Regions from separate parts of the Homo sapiens genome. Here region 1 is linked to region 2. Evidence: promoter capture Hi-C in 16 types of primary human blood cells and fetal thymus (Javierre and others, 2016). All regions are on one chromosome and are shown on one strand. Each heading gives the region's core, a stretch centred on a gene start or on the middle of the fragment in contact. The rest is flanking DNA. Distances are from core to core; before and after follow the strand shown. Region 1 overlaps FAF2 (Fas associated factor family member 2). Region 2 holds the start of CDHR2 (cadherin related family member 2).

What was found. The method cuts DNA at HindIII sites, captures the fragments that hold promoters and counts their contacts. A CHiCAGO score of 5 or more calls a contact.
Region 1: a contact is called between a fragment that was not itself captured here and the fragment with the promoter of CDHR2 in region 2, in 1 of 17 cell types (non-activated CD4 T cells). The highest score is 5.6, in non-activated CD4 T cells.

Annotation. Positions count from the first base shown.
Region 1 is chr5:176,474,258-176,476,957 of GRCh38, forward strand. All of the region lies in intron 1 of FAF2 (Fas associated factor family member 2), which reads left to right. Among named protein-coding and RNA genes, the nearest start is that of FAF2, 27 kb to the left of the region's middle. The HindIII fragment of the contact is 1,631 bases long and covers 473-2,103 here.
Region 2 is chr5:176,548,090-176,550,789 of GRCh38, forward strand. It overlaps CDHR2 (cadherin related family member 2), which reads left to right and starts at 1,253. Exons shown (of 32, transcript NM_017675.6): 1 at 1,253-1,325. RefSeq lists an enhancer at 1,525-2,458. The HindIII fragment of the contact is 9,099 bases long and covers 1-1,402 here.

The DNA.
Region 1 (2,700 bases), core at 38-2,537, 74 kb before region 2:
ACAGAAAACTGGCTTTCATCATTCACCATCTTTTTACTTAATTGTTCAAATCTGGGATACATATGCAGATATAGTGGCTTCAGAATACGTATTCCCATGGAGAAAAACCTTATCAAGTAGAGAACAGTGCTTAAGTGTAGTTCCTGTTGCCTTTAGTCTTATAGACTTCATTTCCAAAGTTTCTTAGCACCCCCCTTCCCCCTTTGGTGAGGTTGTTTCACATATTTTCTAGACAATTAGATTCTTTTGTCAAAGTCTGTGTTCCATCCGGAGAGCCTCTGATCTCTTAAATGATTTTTTAAATTTACATACATTAAGGTTCACTCTGCTGTAAAGGTCTGTGGGTTTTTATCTGTCTCACAGTTTTTGCATATGTTGGCCTTCTGCCTGGAATACTCTTCCCAGATATTTCCCCATGACTGGCCCCTTATCTTTCATTCAGATCTCTGCTCAAATATTATCTCCTTGAGGAAGCTTTCCTTGAGCACCCAATCTAAAGGAATCTTCTAGAACAAAATGAAAATTTTGTTAGTGTATTTTCTTCAGTATGTGTGGTTTGTTTTGACCAGTCTCCATTTACTAGGATGAAAATTTAAACAGGGCAGGGACTGTATCTGTATCCTGGATATATAGTGAATGTATGTTGATATATGAATGAATAATCCTGTCCCAGGTGTGTCCAGCATCACTTATTTCTAGGGCATAGTTTTAGTACTGATCAGTAGTAATTGAAAGCAGGCTTGTTCAGTTGGGTTTCCAGCTCACCCTGCTTCACTACTTAAAAAGTGTTTTGGTTATAAATTAGGTTAAGTGTTTCAGTATATTAAAGATGGCAGTCACTCTGTTCTCTCCTGCAATGTTTATAACCATTTATTTAAGGTTATTATTATTATTATTGAGATGAGGTCTCTCTGTTGCCCAAGTTGGAGTGCAGTGGCGCAGTTTACTGCAGTCTTGACCTCCTCAGGCTCAGGTGATCCTGAATAGATGATCCTTCTTGAGTAGCTGGGACTACAGGCGCACCACCACACCCGGCTAATTTTTTTTGTATTTTTTATAGAGATGGAGTTTCTCTATATTGGCCAGGCTGGTCTTAACTCCTGGGCTGAAGTGATCCACCCACCTTGGCTTCCCACAGTGCTAGGATTGCAGGTGTGAGCCACTGTGCGTAGCCTAAAAGTTACTTTAGTGAGGGATTTATAATCTCTATTCCTACTTAGAATTACATATCAATACCAGCCGGGCACGGTGGCTCACGCCTGTAATCCCAACACTTTGGGAGGCCGAGGCGGGTGGATCACCTGAGGTGAGGAGTTCGAGACCAGCCTGGTGAAACCTCGTCCCTACTAAAAATACAAAAACTAGCCAGGCGTGGTGGCAGCCACCTGTAATCCCAGCTACTTGGGGAGCCAAGGCAGGAGAATCACTTGAACCCAGGAGGCGCAGGTTGCAGTGAGCCGAGACCGTGCCATTGCACGCCAGCCTGGGGGACAAGAGCGAGACTTCGTCTAAAAAAAAAAAAAAAGAATTACTATCAATACCACGGATTTCCCAGCTCGGCTGTACATTAGAATCAGCTGAGGAGCTTTAAGAACAAACACTGCTTCCTGAGCTCTTTCCTGACTTACTGATTTTCAGGAAAATTCTACAAATTTGTAATGTTTTAACAACCAGCTTGGCATCTAGTCAGAACATTTGAAGTTAAAAAACCCCAGTAACCAGGTATGGTGGCTCACGTGTATAATCCCAACACATTGGGAGGCCAAGGCGGGAGGATCGCTTGAGCCCAGGAGTTCAAGGCCAGCCTGGGCAACATGGTGAAATCCTGTCTCTACCCAAGAAAAATAGAAAAATTAGCCAAGTGTGGTGGCGCACACCTGTGGTTCCAGCTGCTCGGAGGCTGAGATGGGAGGATCATTTGAGAGCGGGAGACAGAGGTTGCAAGTGAGCCAAGATCGTTCCACTGCACTCCAGCCTGGACAACAGAGCCAGACAGAACCTGTCTTAAAAAAACAAAGCAAAACAAAAAAAACAGTGTATTAATGTAAAGTGAGATTTTGTGATAATATCTAGAGGATTTCAGCTTATAGCTATGATGACTGAAGCTTATACAAAAAGGTCCTTTTAACTTGGACTGATTCTTCTACGATTTAAGCCCATAGTGTGTGCCTGGTACTAGTGAATATTACAGTGAATTGTTCCCTGCTCTCAGAGAACTTACATTACACCCTCTGAGAAGGCAATAGAATGAATGTAAATAATCATAAGATAGGAAACAATAGGCACATAAGAGACGTAGAAAACAATTTTGGTATTTAGAGGAGGGAGCAGTCATTTGCACACTGGGGAAGATGGTAAGATTAGAGTCCCTTTTTTTTTTTTTTTTTTTTTTTGAGATGGAGTCTCGCTCTGTCACCTAGGCTGGAGGGCATTGGCATGATCTCGGCTCACCACAACCTCTGCCTCCTGGGTTCAAGCGATTCCCCCACCACAGCCTCCCGAGAGTATCTGGGACTACAGGCACGCAGCACCACCATGCTGAACTAATTTTTTTTTTTTTTTTTTTTTTTGAGATGGAGTCTTCCTCTGTCACCCAGGCTGGAGTGCAGTGGCGCTATCTCAGCTCACTGCAAGCTCCACCTCCCTTGTTCACGCCATTCTCCTGCCTCAGCCTCCTGAGTAGCTGGGACTACAGGCGCC
Region 2 (2,700 bases), core at 3-2,502:
CTGTACCGCACGCTGCAGGCAACTGTAACACAGGGGTAAGTATTTGTGCATGTAAACACAGAAAGGGTGCCATGAAAGATGATATTATACTCTTATGGGACCGCTATTATATGTGTGGTTCGTTGTTGACCAAAACACAGATATATGGTGCATGACTATATATCTATTGTGAATTAGACATGTCCTCTGCCCACAAGAAGAGGGCCACCCAATGGTGACGACTCAGTGGTGTGCCTTAAGAAAGTTGTGCCCAGGGTCCCCTTTCTGTGTCAACTGTGATGGCTGGGCCAAAGTGAGGATAAGAAGGACTTGTGGCTGAGCCCCTTCGGGAGGCCACCACATCGGGCAGCGCTTAAAGCCAGCCTGGGGGCCGAGCTCCGTGGCTCATCCCTGTAATCCCAGCATTTTGGAAGGCCGAGGCAGGCGGATCGCCTGAGGTTAGGAGTTCGAGACCAGCCTGGCCAACATGGTGAAACCCTGTTTCTACTAAAAATACAAAAAAAATTAGCCGGGTGTGGAGGCCCACGCCTGTAATCCCAGTTACTCGAGAGGCTGAGGTAGGAGAATTGCTTGAACCCAGGAAGCAGAGATTGCAGTGAGCCAAGATTGTGCCACTTCACTCCAGCCTGGGTGACAGAGCAAGACTCTGACTCAAAAATAAATAAATAATTAAAAAAAAAAGGCAACTTGGGAGTGGATGAAGCCCCTGGGGACGGGCAGATGCCTTTTGAGGGTCTCAATGCGGGGTGAGATCAGTGTCAACAGGCTCGAAAGTGGGTTGTCCAGGCTCAGCTAGCCCCCAGTCCTCCACGAGAACCTCACAGGGGCTGGTCTGGCCACACAGTGTTTGATTGTTACACTGTTTTACCACTTCCCTCTCCTGACTCAATCCCCCACTTGTCCACAGATCCCCTGTCACTGAAGACTCGTAGCAGGGAGGGGACGGGGGCTCTGGCATCACCTTCTGACTGTCACCGTCCCCGCCTCCAGCCTGCCCCAGTGTTGGGCCTTGTTCCCAGGTCCTCTGGGCTCAGGGTCGGCCAGGCCCCTTCTCCTGTGGTGTGGGCCTCCAGCCCCAGGAGCGCCAGGAGCTCTGGCGCCTTGGTCCCTTCCTCCTGTCCGGCGCCCCCAGCTGTACTCTGCCTCATTAGGAGTCGACCCCTCCTGGGAGGTGTGGTCTCTGGCAGGGTTAATGATTGCTCAGTGGAGGTGGAGATGGTGCCAAAGTCTGCTGGCCACATAGCTGCAGGCCGCAGAGGGTGCCCACCTGTGTGCCAGCGCCTGTCCGGCGCCTGCCTGCCGCCTCCGTGGCGAAGGGGACACAGGTAGGGACTATCCAGCTCATCGGGGGTCTCTGGGCCAGAGAAATGTGGGGGTTGGGGGGATCCCTAGAGCCAAGGCAAGCTTGGGGGTCTTTAAAAGTCTCCCCTGAAGCTGGGCAGGGGAAGTCACACGCTAGATGGGGCAGAGCCGGGTCAGGTCCCAGCCTGCTGTGAGGCCTGTTTCTTTGGTAAACATGGGATAATAATACCTCCTTCCCTGGGGGCTGATGGCCCCCTTCCCATCCAAGTCCTCAAGGGATGATTCTTCAGAGGATGGAAGGGAGGCAGGCACCCCAGGGAAACGAGGTAACTGGCCTGACCCCTTCATAGGATGCTCAGGGGTTGAGGACGGGGAAGCTGACCTGGGCTCTTACCCCAGCTGCTCGGTTCACATCCCAGCTCCACCCTGACCTTGGTGGGCTACTTAACTCTTCTGGGCCTCCGTTTCCTCATTTATCAAATGGGGATGAGAAGAGTTCCAGAAAGGGCCTGAAAAGCCCTGAGGCAAAGGTGAGCATGTGGCCTATGACCGAGCCCAGTGCCACCTCAGCCAGTGCTAGGAAGTGTCAGGCAGGGACTGACCCAGGCTGGCCCCAGCTCTGCCCAGTCCGGGCCTTGCACATCTCTCTGCCCTGGTAGAGGAGGTGGTGACCCAGCTGAGAGTCGGGGCCATGCTGCGTCACTCAGGCAGGCCTGTGCTGGGTTGGGCACCAGGCACAAGGCAGGGTCCCAGTGAGCACCGAGGTCCGGCAGATGGAAACAAGTCATGGCCCGTGTGTAGACCCCTTGATTTTTATCCTCACTCTGCTTCTCAGCAGGGGAAACTGAGGCCTGGAGAGGGGAGAGGGCTTGCCTGGGGTTGCACAACAAATATGTGAAATGCTGCCATCTGAACCCAGGGCTGTTTGAGTCTGTATGTGTCTGCTGGGCCAGGTGGCCTGGGCCATAGGCACTGGGAGGGCCCGTGGCGGGGAGCTGCGTGCTCAGGTCCCACATCCTTGCTCCGGGCACCCAGGCTCGGCTGGAGTCCGCTCTGTGGGTGCAGGCACGGCCTCCTGGATCAACGGAGCCCAGACCAAGGCTTGCCCAGGGACCCCTGGATTTGGAGGCAGCCTGGGTCTAACCTGCTGCCCCTGGCTCACCCATCTCTGGGCATCTATGAGCCTCGGTTTCCTTGGAATAATAGGATAGGATAATTCCTGCTTGGGAACAGCTGTGAGAAGTAAATGAAAAAGCAGAAGTGAAAGTGCATGGCGAGCTGGCCGTGTAGCGGTGGCGGTGCTGGGGGAGCTCTGTAGCATCGTGGCTGAGTGCACCCCGGGGGCTCCCCACACTGAAGGAGGACCCACCTCCCCACCCTGACCCTCCTGGAGGTCCT